Linked DNA regions of Homo sapiens: all the other regions are linked to region 1. The links are contacts of gene promoters, found by promoter capture Hi-C in blood cells and fetal thymus (Javierre and others, 2016). All regions are on one chromosome and are shown on one strand. The core of a region is centred on a gene start or on the middle of the fragment in contact, and the rest is flanking DNA. Distances in the headings are between cores, read along the strand shown. Region 1 holds the start of ZHX1 (zinc fingers and homeoboxes 1). Region 2 holds the start of TATDN1 (TatD DNase domain containing 1). Region 3 overlaps RNF139-DT (RNF139 divergent transcript). Region 4 has its middle 4.2 kb from the start of TYW2. Region 5 holds the start of TMEM65 (transmembrane protein 65).

Region 1 (2,841 bases), core at 230-2,729:
TCCCTAACCGTGAACCGCTGTATATTTTCCAATTTTGTGATTTTCCTTTTTCTGCTATCACATTAACCTCCAAGAGAACTGCTTAAGTTACATGGAATCCCAACCTAATCACATCACGACTTCTCTCTCAGCCTTTACATTTTTCTCTCAAATATTAGCTCTTCGCATTTTTTTTTTTTTCTAATAGCTGGGCTGAGTTGACAGAAAAGGGCTGTGGAATTCCTGCTCTGTCCGATATCTTCCCTGTATTCCTCTTTTCTCATCCCTAGTCTCTGTTCTAATTCCCCCGCCTGCTGTCTCTCATTGACGCCTTCCCAGCTGCTGGATCCTTCACTAACCTAAGCTAAGGATATCAAATGGAATCTTTTCCTTCTCAGGGGCTATGCTCTTTCCTTACAGTTACCCACGGAGGAGAGAGGACAGGAAAGGTACTAAAACAAAGAATTGCCAAGTCCCTTTACCTCCAACTTTGGTGTAAATATATAAGGAAAGGGGATCTGCCAGGGCTCTTCTTTCCTGCCCTTAGACCTTGTTCCTCTCACACCTCTCCTTCCCAGCCTTTTATACCCCTTGAGGTATTAGTAGATTGTTCACTGTGGGCCCTAAGGCTTGGAGGATTCCCATGGGTCAGCCCCCACACCCCCACGCCCCTACCATCCTCTTTAATTAACTTCTCCCTAAATCCCAGGGCTTCGTCACAATCGTAATATGGTTCTTAAGGACTCAACTCCCAGTCTTTCCCAAAGTTGGGACATGGCCTGGCCCCGAAACGGGTGCGCATAGCCTTCCTTGAACTGGAGGTAAAGACTTCTCCTGAAGGGTTTGCTGGGGCTCCAACCTCAGTCAGTGCGCTCAGCTCCAGCAAGAGAATCTCTCCTTACTCTCAGGGAGACTGGGTCCCCCACGAGGCAGCCACACGCCCCCGGAGGACAGCGCTCCTGACCTCCTCTAGGACTCCCAACATTACTGGGGTGCTCCCTCCGGCGGCGCCCTCCGCTGGGAATACGCAGTCTTCACTCCTCTCAACAATCCTAAGTTGCTGGGTCCTCACCAAGGCAGGGGGCTGAGATGTTCCCTCCAGAGAGCCCCCCGCCCCCAAGCTCTTTCGGTGGCGGAGACACCCAAAAAGAGCGAGGGAGGCTGTGGGTCTGTCTGTCCCTCTGCGGCGACTACCCAGCCGCGAGGCAGGCCCCGTCCCTCCCCCTCGGACGCCCCACGCCGGGTCCACCCCGCCACCCGCCGCCGCGAGCGGGCTCAGCCCCAGGGGTCTCTGCTGTGAGGCTGCCCTCCTCCCGCCAGGCCCCGCGCTACTCGCCTTTCCCGTGCCGGCCGCGGACTCTGCGCTCCAGTTCCCACCCGCAGCCCAGAGTCTCCGGGCCCGCTGGTCGCGGAGCCGGCTCGCGCCACTACCTGCAGGGGCCGCCGCGCCTCTCAGCGCCACGCCGCCGCCATCTTGCATTTCAAACCGGCTGCACTTTTCAGGGAGTCAACTCTGACCTGTGAACCCTAAACCCGGAACCGCTCGGCGGGCCCGCAAAGGGGCCTCAGCAGCTCGGTGGCCCCGCGGAGTGTGGGGACTCAGGGTGGGGGTGCGAGGAGAGGCGCGCGCCCCAGCGGCCGTCCGGGGGCGGAGGGGGAAGGGAGAGAGCCGGCCAAGGCGGGGCCCTCCCGCGCGCGCGTCCTCCGCGCGCCCCCACCCCGTGCGGCGCCGAGCTCTCCACGCCCAGACCCTGCTACTCCACTGGGGTCCGACCCCGGCCCCTAGTCCGGGGATTGGCGCACCGCGGGAGGTAGGGAGGCGCCCCGCCCCCCTGTCAACAGAAGCCCCGCCCCAGACTGCGGAAGCTCCGCCCCCTGTCAGGAGACGCCCCGCCTTCCCAGGGCTCGAAATGGCCCCGCCCTTTGCCTGCGACCGCTCCGCCCGCTGTGGACTGAAGCCTGGTCTTCTCTCGGGTCAGCACAGAAGGCAGCCCCGCCTTCCTTGCGCTCCGCCTTCCTAATGTCACTGCTGGATCGTGAGAGGTAAGCATGCTGGCTTCTACTGAAACGCCCCTTGTCATCACACGCCCATCCCCTGGGGCGACACGACCCAGGCCCCGCCCCTCGGGGGGCTGCTGCGAGTCCGGCCGGGAGCCCAGCGCCCTGACAGAAGTCGCCGCGCCCCTTGTCAGCGGCAGCTCCACCTCTCCTCGCTTCGGACCCCGCTCCTCCGCGGGCCGCAGCTCCACCCGCTGACACCGAAAGTTCAGTTCAGCTGCACTCAGAACCGCCGGGCAAGGCGGAGCCGCCCTCTGCCCCTCAGCCGCCCTCCTCCCTGCGAACCGCCACTCGCTCTTCCAGAGGCTTCTGTCCGAGTCGAGGGCTTCACATCCCGTCGGCTTTCAGGGAACCAGCCCCGCAGCGGGGCCAGCGAGGGCCAGGGGTTTCGGGAACACTGCCCGGCGTCTCCGCCCCTCCCTACTCACTTTCCCTTTCCCCCGCACCGCGGTCAGAACGTGGAGGAACAGAACCAAAGCGGAGAGCGGCGACTCACCCTCCAGCTGCTCCACACGCCGGGCCTTGGACGCTCGAGCGCTCCTGGGCCCCTTGACGTTCACTCCCCACCCCCATCCCAGTCGCGGACCCTTTGTGCAGAGCTCCGCTGAGCCACAGTAATCCTAAAAGCACAGCAGAGCTCCGCTGAGCCACATTAATCCTAAAAGATGCAATTGCTTCAAGTGGAAGTCTGATTTTTTTTTTTTTTTTGAGACGGAGTCTCGCGTTGTCGCTTAGGCTGAAGTGAAATGGCGCGATCTCTGCTCACTGCAACCTCTGCCTCCCGGGTTCAAGCGATTCTCCTGC
Region 2 (2,841 bases), core at 232-2,731, 1.3 Mb after region 1:
TTAACTTGAGGCAGGAATTTGGTTGTATAACATAAACACACTTTTAAAAAGTTATGTGGCCTTTCTTTACGGAGTACTTCATGGCTCTTTATTCCATCTCCCTCATCAATTATATCAAAGGTTAGGATGGAAAGGCTAAGACACGGCAATGTCTTATTTGACAACCCCTCCCCAAACCCCTACTCCAGGCTTTCCCACAGCAATTTCAAAACCTTTTTCCTGGCACTTAACATATTCTCCCCTGCATTTGCTTTTGACTGTACAGTACATAGGTCTTAGGTCTCCAGTCTGAAAACTGCACCACTAGATTTTACAGTTCCACAGGACTTAGCACAACGTCTTTGAAAAAAAAAAATACTGCTTAAATAACTCTCAGATCTAAATGTATAATCCTAATCTCTTGATTGCCAGACCACATTCCCAATTGCCCAGATATCTCTACCTGGATGTCCTATAATTATCTCAAACTTAACCTAATCCAAATGGACCTGGGTACCTCTCTTCACCGCCAAACTAGTCATGCTTCCATTTCATATTTAAGTACTTTTCCAAACCCTGAGTCATCTTTGTTCACTCTCTACTACCGGCCATGAACACTCAGCTGCTAAATGCTGCACACATCTCTTCCATTTCTCTCTCTTTTCCATTACCCTAGTTTAAGCTCTTGAAATGCTTCCCTACCTCTCCCTATTTCCCACAAAACCTACATAATAGCTATCAGGATTACCTTGCTAAAGCAGAGGTGTGATCACTGTCATTTCCCACCTTCAGGTAGCTGGAAACCCCACAAAACGAGGATCATGCCCATTTAAATCCCGCAGCATTCTCCCTCTCGTTCTACTGATGCCGACTGGATCATTGTACTTGCCAAGTACAGTTTGTTTTTCTCCCCATTACTTGTGTTTTCTAGTTTCTCCACCAGATGGTGATGACAGTACAACTGGGAGCTTTGTGCCCTGTGTTCCTAGGCCAGTGCCAGGCCCACTTGAGGCGCTCACTAACTATGATATGAACGAATGAATGCTTGAGTGAATTGGTCCCCAGAAGCGGTCAGCCTCTCCGCCAAGGCAGAGGGGAAGGGCCGGGAGGTGCACGTGGGATGAATGGAAACATAGTGATTGGCCTTTTTGGAGTTTTCTTCTTAAAAAACTGAATACATTACAGATGTTGAAAACAGCACAAAAATCATAACTGTACGGCTTGTTAATTTTTACAAATAAATACACCCTCGTGAATCCAGAACCTAGATCAAGAACCAGAGCATTACCAGCACCCAGAAACCTCCCCGCGCCCTCCTCCACTGAGCGGCCCTTTCAACCCTTACAATGCCGGAGGGCGCAATTCCTGGGTCCTGTGACCTTGGTGACCGACGCCCGGGACAAGTCAGAAAGACCCAAGGGCGTGGAAAACGCTCCTCTTACCGATAAACTTGAAGCGACTCATGACTGCGCATGGAGGACCTCCCCAGCGGAAGCGGAAGTGGCCGCCGGCAACTCCGCCCTTCCGGCTGGCCCCGCTCAGTCACCCGCAGCAGGCGTGCAGTTTCCCGGCTCTCCGCGCGGCCGGGGAAGGTCAGCGCCGTAATGGCGTTCTTGGCGTCGGGACCCTACCTGACCCATCAGCAAAAGGTGTTGCGGCTTTATAAGCGGGCGCTACGCCACCTCGAGTCGTGGTGCGTCCAGAGGTAAGGGATGGGGACCCAGGACTCGGGGAGGTGACCCTCGGGGCCCCATGGAGGTGGAGAGGCCCCTGGGTACCTGGAGGTTCAAGGACTTCGGGAACGGAATTGGAAGGTGGCCTCTCGCTTCACAGAATCCTATGGTAGACCCGGGTTCAAATCCAGGCTTCGCCACTTATGGCCGGGAGACCTTGTAGAGTTGCTTGTCGGGTCTGGGCGTCAGCTTTTTGTTTAGTAAAACGGACGCACGACCAGCGCAGAGGGTCGCAGGAAAATTAAGTGAAATAAAGGAAAGTGCCTAAAATTGTAATTGTCATGGGTCCAGCGCTCGCTCAATCGTTTTCTTCACGATCTTCTCCTTTCCAATATTAACAGCAATAAACTATGCATTATTTTCTTCAGTCTGCAAAACTCTAGGAGTTAGGAATTATCTTAAGCTTATTTTACAGATAAGAAGATGAGCACAGCTGGTAACTTGCGCAAGGTGATAGAGTTTCTAAGTGTCTGAGCCAGGGTTAAAATTTAGGTCTTTCTCCAAAGCATCATCATTCTCCCACCCCTCCCATTAGCTTTTCTCTTTTTAGCTTCATCTAGTCCTTTTCATTACCTTTACATCTTTTTCACCTCTTACATAATTCTCTTTCGACCTCTATCCGTCTGAGACTAGTCTGAGAACATAGTGTTAAAATGTGTAGATTTTAATCACCTAAATTCATTGCAGGGTGGGCTAACAACCCAAGATGTGTGAGTGCCTCGCCTCCACTCCAGTCTTACGACTCTCCAAACGTAGTTTTATAAGAAGGCCTTCTGGGAAAAAAACTCTATGGAAAATGGAGTAGGCCTGGAAGAATTACAGAGGGTACCCTCGAAGCCCAGATTGCATATATGTGACTATTAGAAAATCACTGACATACTTCTCTTGATTTGGCAGGAAGATGGCCAAGTACAATGTGATGGGATTGTTAGTTTCTTCCTTGAGTTTTCCTTATTTATTTATTGATTTGACAGAATTTGCAATTCAGATTCTATGCTCTATGCTAAATATATAAATGTTAGTAAATCCATTTTTGAGCAGCAGCAGCTCACGGATTAGTGGGGAAAATGGACATGTAAACAAATCGATGATGAAGGAAGTTGAGCCATCAGGGATTCAGGTATCCCAA
Region 3 (2,841 bases), core at 142-2,641, 1.2 Mb after region 1:
TGCAATTATACACATGCATTTGGCTGCCTGAAGTTGTCCCACCCTTTACTGATGCTCTATTTATTTTGGTAGGAGGTGTGTGTCTCATTTTATTCTTTTTTCTCTCTGTTTCAGGGAGGTTCTACTGCTGCATCTTCAAGTTCACTGATCTTTCTTTCTGCAATATCTAATCTGCCATTAATCTCATCTAACATATTTTTCATCTCAGACATTGGAGTTTTCATCTCTAGAAGTTTGATACGGGTCTTTTTATACCTTCATTGTCTGTAATATCTTCAGTCTTTCCTCTGGTTTCTTGAATACATGGAATATAATTATAATAACTGTTTTAATGTCCTTGTCTAATAATCTTCATCATCTGTAATTTCTGAGTCAGTTTTGACAGAATGTTTTATTTTTTGTTTGTTTTGAGATGGAGTCTTGCTCTGTTGCCCAGGCTGGAGTGCATTGGCACAATCTCACTGCAACCTCTGCCTCCTGGGTTCAAGCAATTCTCCTGCCTTAGCCTCCTGAATAGCTGGGACTACAGGTGAGCACCACCACTCCCTGCTAATTTTTGTATTTTTAGTAGAGACGGGGTTTCGCCATGTTGGCCAGGCTGGTCTTGAACTCCTGACCTCAGGTCATCCACCTACCTTGGCCTCCCAAAGTGCTGGGATTACAGGTGTGAGCCACTGCACCTAGCCCAGAATGTTTTATTTTTCTTATTATGGGTTGTATTTTTCTGTTGCATGCCTGGTAATTTTTGATTGGATGCCAGCCATTGTGAATTTTACTTTGTAGATTATTTTCATATCCCTAAAACAGTTTGAACTTTCTTCTGGAGTATGATTAAGTTATTTGGACACAGTTTGAATGTTTTTGGGTCTCTCTTTTAAGCTTTGTTAGGTTATTCTAGAGCATTTAGTCGAGGGTTAATTTTTCCCGCTATTGAAGCAAGACCTTTCTTAGTACTCTAACTGGTGCCTTGTGAATTAGGATCTTTTCCACTCTTGCTGACGGGATCAGGAATCATTCACCATCCTGTGTGAGCTTTGAGTATTGTTTTCTTTAATCCTTTCTGATGGTTCTTTGCCAAGCCTTTGGTTATTTCCTCTCATGCATGTACTAATCATTATTTAGCTTAATACTTCAGGAGAATGGTCAGCAGATCTCTGGAGTTCTCTCTGTGTCACTCTGTCCTCTCTAGTATTCTACCCTGTGAACTCTAGTTGCCTTGGGCTCTCAGGACTCCCACTTATATCTCCTCACCTCACAGAGTCTTCTGGGTTCCCTCTCCCCATGCCAAAGCCTTTCTTCAGGCAGCAAGTTGGAGCAATTGTATTGCTCACCTTGTTTGCATTCCATCTCTCATGGATTACTATCCTTCACTGCCTATGTCCAATGCCTTCAGGGCCATTGTTTCATATATTTTGCCCATTTAAAAAAAGTATTTGGAAGTTTATAATTACTTTCTACTTAAATTTACTAGCTGTCACAATCATTACTGAAGAAATTCACTCTTGCAATAATATACATATGTACTTCATTTGACACAGAATTTCAACATGTAAAGCATATAAGAATTTCTTGCCACAATCATGTTTAGAATGCTTACCTATAAGGTGAATATTAAAATATTAGTAAATACAATGACTTTTTTCAGATTAGACATGATAAATAACCTGCAAGGTTACTTGACCATTGGTCACACAGAATTTCAGAGAGATCAGAACCAGTGTCAAAATAGGTATTTGTCTTTTTGGCTTTTTAAAGGTCAAGGTTGAATCAAGGGTAAACGAAAATATTGCATGAACATGAAGCTAAAATTGAATTTTATGTAACACAACAACAGCACTGGGTAAATAGAGATAGGTGGATAGACTGTCTCAGTTTCTTTTTAATAATTTTTATTTTTTTAATCGAAGCTTTACACATAATTTAAAAACTCAAAGGTAACAAAACCTAATATGAAAAAAGCCCACCATGATGAAGCAGCTGTTCTGCAGGTGTTTTGCCCTCATTCTGTGTGTCTACTTTCAATTCCAAATGGGCTTATATGACCAAAGAGATGCAGGATCTAACCAACATGTACCAACAGGAACCATGAGCATGTGTATGGAACTGGGTCCTGAGAGTGCTGGACAAGAATTAAGTTTGTGTTTATATAGGACAGCAGTACCCATTTATAGTATTGGCTTAGGGTTATGTTAACTCTTCCACACTGCGTCATAATCCGAAGAGATCTAGACCATCTAAACATCCCACATAATGTCACAATGACCTACCACATTGATGACATCATGCTAGCTGGATAAGGTGAATAATAAGCAGCTAGCATACTGTACACTGGAGGATGGGAAATAATCCTTAAGACCCAGCAAGCTGTTACCTCAGTGAAACTTTTAGGGCCCAGTAGGCTGCTTGAATGCCAAGATATCCCCTTCACAGTAAAGGACAAATTATTGCATCTCACCCACTCATTTCACCAAAATTATTCTGCCACCAGGGAAGCACACCAAGCTGTGTAGGCTTCTGTGGGAATTCAGAAGTTGGCAGTACTGTTCTGACTCGTAAACTGGGTGAGATAGAAATCTGCCAGTTTTCAGTGGGATCCATAGCATGTAAAAGTTCTCTAGCAGGTATGGTGTATTTAGCCCTGTTGCATGGACCAATTCAGGATATTCTATGGGACAAGAGTAAATGTGATAAGAAGCCATGAAAGTTGAAGGCAAGCTCCAATGGGAGAATCACAAGGTCGACTCCTGGCATTCTGTGGCAAGGCTGGGCCATCTGCAGTGCAAAATCCCAAAAACAACTCTATCCATGCTAATGTGCCTTGGTAAGAACTGATTATGGACA
Region 4 (2,841 bases), core at 130-2,629, 1.2 Mb after region 1:
AGATGGGCCATTATCACTCTACAAGCTTTTAGGCAACCTGAATCTGGGAATCATATCCTTGAATGAAAATTTAGAAACCTTGATTGACTTTTCAGGCCAGATAGGAAAAGCTTCAATCCAACATGTAAAGAAAGGTATCAACCAACACTGATAAATATTGGAATCCTTTACATGGGGGCATTTGGGTATAGTGTGTTTGCCAATCTTCTTCTGGGTACGACCCCCTATGCTGAACAGGCTTTACTAATGGAGGAGGTAAAGTTTGGTTGTTTGAGGTTTTTTTGGGCACACAATTCACAGGCCCAAGTCACTTGTTTTACTGTTCTAAGAAAGTCTTTTCGGCCAGGCACGGTGGCTCACGCCTGTAATCCCAGCACTTTGGGAGGCTGAGGTGGGTGGATCACGAGGTCAGGAGTTCAAGACCAGCCTGGCCAACATGGTGAAACCCTGTCTTTACTAAAAATACAAAAATTAGCTGGGCATGGTGGCAGATGCCTGCAATCCCAGCTACTCGGGAGGCTGAGGCAGAGAATTGCTTGAACCCAGGAGGCAGAGGTTGCAGTGAGCTGAGATCACACCACTGCACTCCAGCCTGGGTGACAGAGCGAGACTCCGTCTCAAAAAAAAAAAGAAAGTCTTTCCCTATAAACAGATGAGCCATATTAATTGAAATGAGAAATCTCTTCCCAAATGAGTAGAGCCATGCCAATACTTAACTATTTTCCATTGATCAGCTCTTGGTACATATCATCTGTCATTTTCATCAATTAGCCATCTGGAAGTGCTTATAGTTAACCCATGGGTCTTAGCCCATTTTTGTTCTTTTCTAGTATTAACCATGCTCTAGTTTTATCGTCACCAAGGCAGTGGGCACCAACATGCCTACCAGATTAACTGGTTCCCTCAAATGAAGCTGCCTCAGCTGTAGCATCTGCAAAAGAATGCCCTTTTATTATTTTGGAGTTTTCTTTCTTTCTTTTCTTTTCTTTTTTTTCTTTTTTTTTTTTTTTTTGAGTCAGAGCCTTGCTCAAGTTGCCCAGGCTGGAGTGCAATGGCACGATCTCAGGCTCACTGCAACCTCTGCTGCCCAGGTTCAAGCAATTCTCCTGCCTTAGCCTCCCAGGTAGCTGGGATTACAGGCACGAGCCACCACGCCCAACTAATTTTTGTATTTTTAGTAGAGATGGGGTTTCACCCTGTTGGCAAGCCTGGTCTCGAACTCCTGACCTCATGATCCGCCCGCCTTAGCCCCTCAAAGTGCTGGGATTACAGGTGTGAGCCACAGTGCCTGGCATATTTTGGAGTTTTCTTTTTGATGTCCCTTGCAGTGAATCACAGCAACTTCCTTAGGCAGCAAGGAAGCATCTAGTAGATTTAAAATTCCCAAATAATGTTCTATAGGGGAGCCCTTAGAAGTTAAAGAGTCCCCATTATTTCCAAATAGCAGCATGAGCATGAAGCACCAGAAAGCCATACTTGGAGTTTGTGTACATGTTAATTCTTTTTTAAAATTATTATCCTTTTTTGAGACAGAGTCTCGCTCTGTCTCTAGCCTGGAGTGCAGTGGCATGACCTTGGCTTACTGCAAGCTCTGCCTCCTGGGTTCAAGTGATTCTCCTCCCTCAGCCTCCTGAGTAATTGGGACTACAGGTGTGCACCACCACGCCCAGGTAATTTTTGTATTTTTAGTACAAATGGGGTTTCACCATGTTGGCCAGGCTGTTCTGGAACTCCTGACCTCAAGTAATCCGCCTGCCTCAGCCTCCCAAAGTACTGGGATTACAGGTGTGAGCCACCACACCCAGCCCTAGTGGCCCGTCTTTTAAATCCTGCCAGCTGGAATAAATTTGTTCCATAGCTTGTGTACATGAATGATCTAGGGTGCCTTTGGATCCAAGTAGATACGTAGCTAGGATTAAGGTCTTCTGTTATACTTTAAGAGTTATATCAAGAGTATCTAGCAATAAAGCCTGATAATTTAATAACTATCCCCTACTCATCTATTGGTGCCCTTTAGCTTCTAGGGCCTCTGTTATTTGGTGTGGGGTCAAAACCTCCAGATGTTGTCCCAAAGTTAATTTATTGTCTTCATCTATGAGAAGAGCAGTTGTTGCAACTGCCCTGAAACATCTGAGTCATCCTGAAGCCACATGGTCAATTGGTTAGAAAAATATGCCATGGGTCAAGGGATGTATCCCTGTTTCTAGACAAGAACATTTAGGGCTGTCCCTTGTTTCTCAGCCACATAAAGGAAGAAAGTAAAGCCTGTCCCTAAACCCACGGGGAAGAATTGTCCAAGTTAACACAGAAACCAAAAGATTATTAGGTAATCAAAAGTAAAGACCACAATAGGGGACTCAGCAAAAGAAATGTTTCACTAGAGAAGGGAAATGACAAAGTTCTAGAAAGGAATGTCCAAGTTCAGGCCAGTAGCGGCAAGCAGGACAAGATTTACATGGCCTTGCCATTTGTAACCAAAAAGTAAAAGTCATTCCATTAGCAAGGAGATGAAAAAGAACTGCTGAAAAGCAATCTCCAGTTTTCCATCCTGGAGCAGTTCACCTAGGGGGGACTGGTATAATTGCTGCCAGGCTTAATCTTTCACATTGGACCTTTTCATTTAAAACTTGTAAATGCGAAATTCCAAGTAAGCTTTGCAAAAAAGGAGAGACAATAAACAATTCATTTAAGTGGTCTAGATCTAGGGAAAGTAAATATTACAGAGCCATTTGTCCCCAATGTCTTCTAGCAACATGCCAGAACAACAGGCAAATGGCCCATAACCCAAAGGCAAACAAGAAAAAGGAAAGTTAAAAACCTCAGGACCAGTTCAACAAGATC
Region 5 (2,841 bases), core at 128-2,627, 1.1 Mb after region 1:
GAGCATCCCTGACTTTCGAAGCTACACCCCTTCTTTTGGCTACCCACCCATACGTCTTCATTTGATAACCGTTCAAAAAGTTTCTTCCTGCCAGGCGGGTTTGCAGCACTTTCTCGGAGCAGGCACAGCATGCCACCTGCACGGGTGCACGCTCGCAAGAAAGCAGCAAGGGCTAAGGGACAGGAGGGCTGGGGAGGGGAGGCACGGGGCAAATCAAAACTCAATCCCAACAGCGTTAACTGGCATTTTAGGCCGAAGCTCCGGATTCGGAGGCTGGGGAGGAAGTAGCTAGCGCTGGCCTCGGCTGCCTGGCACGACCCGCGCCCGTCCTACCTGCCTGGGGGAAACTCGGGCGGCGGAAAGTCTCCCCGCCCCCAGCCGTCCCAGGCGTGGGGCCAGACAGGCGAGGGGGGCGGAAGGGGGGCGGCGGCGGGGGTCCAAGATCCAGGGCCGCAGCGGGCTCCCGGTGGGCTGGCGAGAAGAGGAGGGCGTCGGGGCCCCCGGGCTCGCCCCCCACCTGCCCCCCTTACCTTGGGCAATGGCAATAGACTCGAAGCGGTGCAGCTCTTTGAGCAGGCAGCTCCTCTCCGTGGAGTGCAGGCTGTAGATGAAGTCGCGCGCGCCCTGCGCCGTGTTCAGCGCCTCCATGGGCTCCTTCTTGGGGTGCGTGCCCAGCCGCCTGGGGCCGCCCGGCAAGCCGCCGGGGGGCGCGAGCGCCAGCAGCCCCCGCCCGCAGCAGCACCAGGACGGCGGGCGGGGCGCGGCGGCGGCGGCCGGGCCCGGCCTCAGGCTGCGCGCGGTCCGGCTCCTCAGCAGCGGCAGCAGCCGGGACATGGCGAGCTGAGGAGCTGGGACCCCCGCGGCCGTCCGGCAAGGCGGTTTCTGGCGCGGCTGAGGCGAGAAGGAGCTGGGCTCAGCTCGACCCCGCCCCGAGGTCCTCCTGCCAGGCAGCCGAGGCGCCGGGCACCATGCACTCCGCGGGCCCGCGCGGCTCTCGCCTCCTGTTCCGTCCCCACTTCCTTTCCAAAAGGCCCGCGGCGGCTCCCGCCCCTCCGATGGGAAAAACTTTCTCTGAGACGGCCGGGCCCGGACAGCGCCCGGAGAGGGCGGGCGGTCGGTGCGGGCGGGCGCCTCCCGGCTGAGGAGGAGCGGCGCGGGCGGGCGGGGCGGGCTAGTGTGTGTCTCTGTCAGTCTGATCTTCCAGAGGATGAGTCAGCCACGCACCGCCCTCCTCCAGCGCCGCCCTACTCTCCCGCCAGCTTTCTCACCCTCTAGCCTCCCCACGTCCCCACTCTGTAAGGTTCCCGAGCCCTCAAAGCAGCCGCGCTCCCGAGCCGCAGCCGCCGCCGCCGCCGCTACCCCTAGCGGCAGCAGAAGTGGGAACGGGGCGGGGCGAAAGGGGAAGGAGGTGCGGGGGGGCGGGGAGGTGTGTGAGCGAGGCTGCGCAGGCGCAGTCTGCAGGCTCTCGGGCCGCCCTCCCTCCTAGGGGAGGAGCGTGCACACGCGTCCCCTCCCGCGCTGGTGCGTGAAGGTGGAAGGAGGTAGGGTGCGCCACCCTGTGCTGGCGTTAAACCTACAGATCGGAATAGGGAAAACGAGCTCTGGACCCCTCGCCCGCCAGGGTAGTACAGCTGCCACCCGGCCCCCAACCTGGGGCCACATCTGGAGCTTGTTCTGAAAGGTGCCCCGGCGTGCGGCCCCGCTCTGGACAGGCGGAGAGCTGCGCTGCCACCCCAGCCCCGACGGGATCACGGCGCTCTGCTCCGGAACGAAGCGCCCCAGCTGCGCCCTTCGCCAAGTCAGCGCCCACCGCCGCTTCGGCCGAGCAGGCCGGCTCTAATGCAGTCGCTCTGGGCGCCCCAAAGAGAAAGCGAAGCCAGTTCCACCCCTGCCCAAGGAGGGTCTGAGACTGAGCCCTTGACACGAGAACAGTCCTCCCCGTTCAGATTCCAGCAGCTGGCATGCAAATTGTTAATGCTAGAGGCAGAGGCAAGAATGTCATAGACCTTTCCTAGTGGTTGCTTGTGATTTTTTTGTCTCTGTGCTAAAGCGGGAAGAATAATTTGATTGTCCACGATTTCCCCTGATCCAGGTCCTAGGCATCTTTCAAGGCCCAGGTGAAAGGTCTCCTACTTCATTAAGCTGTCCCTAATCTCTTCTAAGGGAGGAGATCTCTGCTTTATCTGAACCTGTCTAATGACGCTTAGGCACCCTTAGAGAATAAATCCACTTAATAAATCTGCTGGAGCGTAATCAAGATCTAAATCCCATCCTTATCATAAACAGTGCTGCACTCAGCCCGGAAACTTGTAGGTAGTAAATGTGCTACATGTAAGTAGAATATTAAACTGAATAATGGAGGATTGTTACCACTAAAGCCTCCTACTTCTCTAACTCTGGTTCTCAAAGTGTGTCCCAGAGCTTTTTAGACGTGAGAAATAGTGGACCCCACTTCACACCTCCTGAATCAGAACGTAGACATTGGACCCAGTCATGTGGGTTTTAACAAGCCCTCCAGTAATAACACACACGAAAGCTTGAGAAACACTGATGTCTCTTAAACATTGAAAGGAATCGCTTCTTTTTTAAATTCCAAGGTGATGCCTCTGTGATGTAATAACAACAATTAAGAATGCTCTCTGTGGAAATGAAAGCTTTTTGAGTGCATAAAGTATATCTTCCTTGTCTTTGAAACCCCCTTCATTCCCTAGTGTGCACTGGAATCCTCTGCAGAGCTATTTCAGTCTCAGGCTCATGGGAGTACCACCCCATCCCCCCCACAATTTCCTACCCCCAAGATATTCTGATTCACTGGGGTGGATCACAGGCCCCAGACCTGGG

Evidence for each region. The method cuts DNA at HindIII sites, captures the fragments that hold promoters and counts their contacts. A CHiCAGO score of 5 or more calls a contact.
Region 2: the fragment with the promoter of TATDN1 here is called in contact with the fragment with the promoter of ZHX1 in region 1 in 1 of 17 cell types (monocytes); the score reaches 5.7 in monocytes.
Region 3: a fragment that was not itself captured here is called in contact with the fragment with the promoter of ZHX1 in region 1 in 1 of 17 cell types (naive CD4 T cells); the score reaches 5.0 in naive CD4 T cells.
Region 4: a contact is called between a fragment that was not itself captured here and the fragment with the promoter of ZHX1 in region 1, in 7 of 17 cell types (total B cells, fetal thymus, neutrophils and 4 more). The highest score is 9.1, in total B cells.
Region 5: the fragment with the promoter of TMEM65 here is called in contact with the fragment with the promoter of ZHX1 in region 1 in 2 of 17 cell types (total B cells and fetal thymus); the score reaches 5.6 in total B cells.

What each region holds. Positions count from the first base shown.
Region 1 is chr8:123,272,807-123,275,647 of GRCh38, forward strand. It overlaps ZHX1 (zinc fingers and homeoboxes 1), which reads right to left and starts at 1,480. Exons shown (of 4, transcript NM_007222.5): 1 at 1,411-1,480. ZHX1-C8orf76 (ZHX1-C8orf76 readthrough) reads right to left here and starts at 1,480. Exons shown (of 6, transcript NM_001204180.2): 1 at 1,411-1,480. RefSeq lists silencers at 737-1,104, 1,141-1,340, 1,541-2,230 and an enhancer at 2,711-2,830. The HindIII fragment of the contact is 9,533 bases long and covers 1-2,841 here.
Region 2 is chr8:124,537,604-124,540,444 of GRCh38, forward strand. It overlaps TATDN1 (TatD DNase domain containing 1), which reads right to left and starts at 1,482. Exons shown (of 12, transcript NM_032026.4): 1 at 1,422-1,482. The coding sequence starts at 1,443. NDUFB9 (NADH:ubiquinone oxidoreductase subunit B9) reads left to right here and starts at 1,520. Exons shown (of 4, transcript NM_005005.3): 1 at 1,520-1,684. The coding sequence starts at 1,584. RefSeq lists an enhancer at 1,343-1,412. The HindIII fragment of the contact is 3,000 bases long and covers 1-2,113 here.
Region 3 is chr8:124,462,398-124,465,238 of GRCh38, forward strand. It overlaps RNF139-DT (RNF139 divergent transcript), which reads right to left. Exons shown (of 2, transcript NR_108047.1): 2 at 96-2,841. Among named protein-coding and RNA genes, the nearest start is that of RNF139-DT, 11 kb to the right of the region's middle. The HindIII fragment of the contact is 1,028 bases long and covers 878-1,905 here.
Region 4 is chr8:124,445,238-124,448,078 of GRCh38, forward strand. No RefSeq gene overlaps it. Among named protein-coding and RNA genes, the nearest start is that of TYW2, 4.2 kb to the right of the region's middle. The HindIII fragment of the contact is 2,542 bases long and covers 109-2,650 here.
Region 5 is chr8:124,371,324-124,374,164 of GRCh38, forward strand. It overlaps TMEM65 (transmembrane protein 65), which reads right to left and starts at 1,378. Exons shown (of 7, transcript NM_194291.3): 1 at 531-1,378. The coding sequence starts at 834. RefSeq lists silencers at 401-450, 461-590, 641-770, 901-1,170, 1,291-1,520 and enhancers at 1,245-1,539, 1,751-1,940. The HindIII fragment of the contact is 4,556 bases long and covers 1-2,534 here.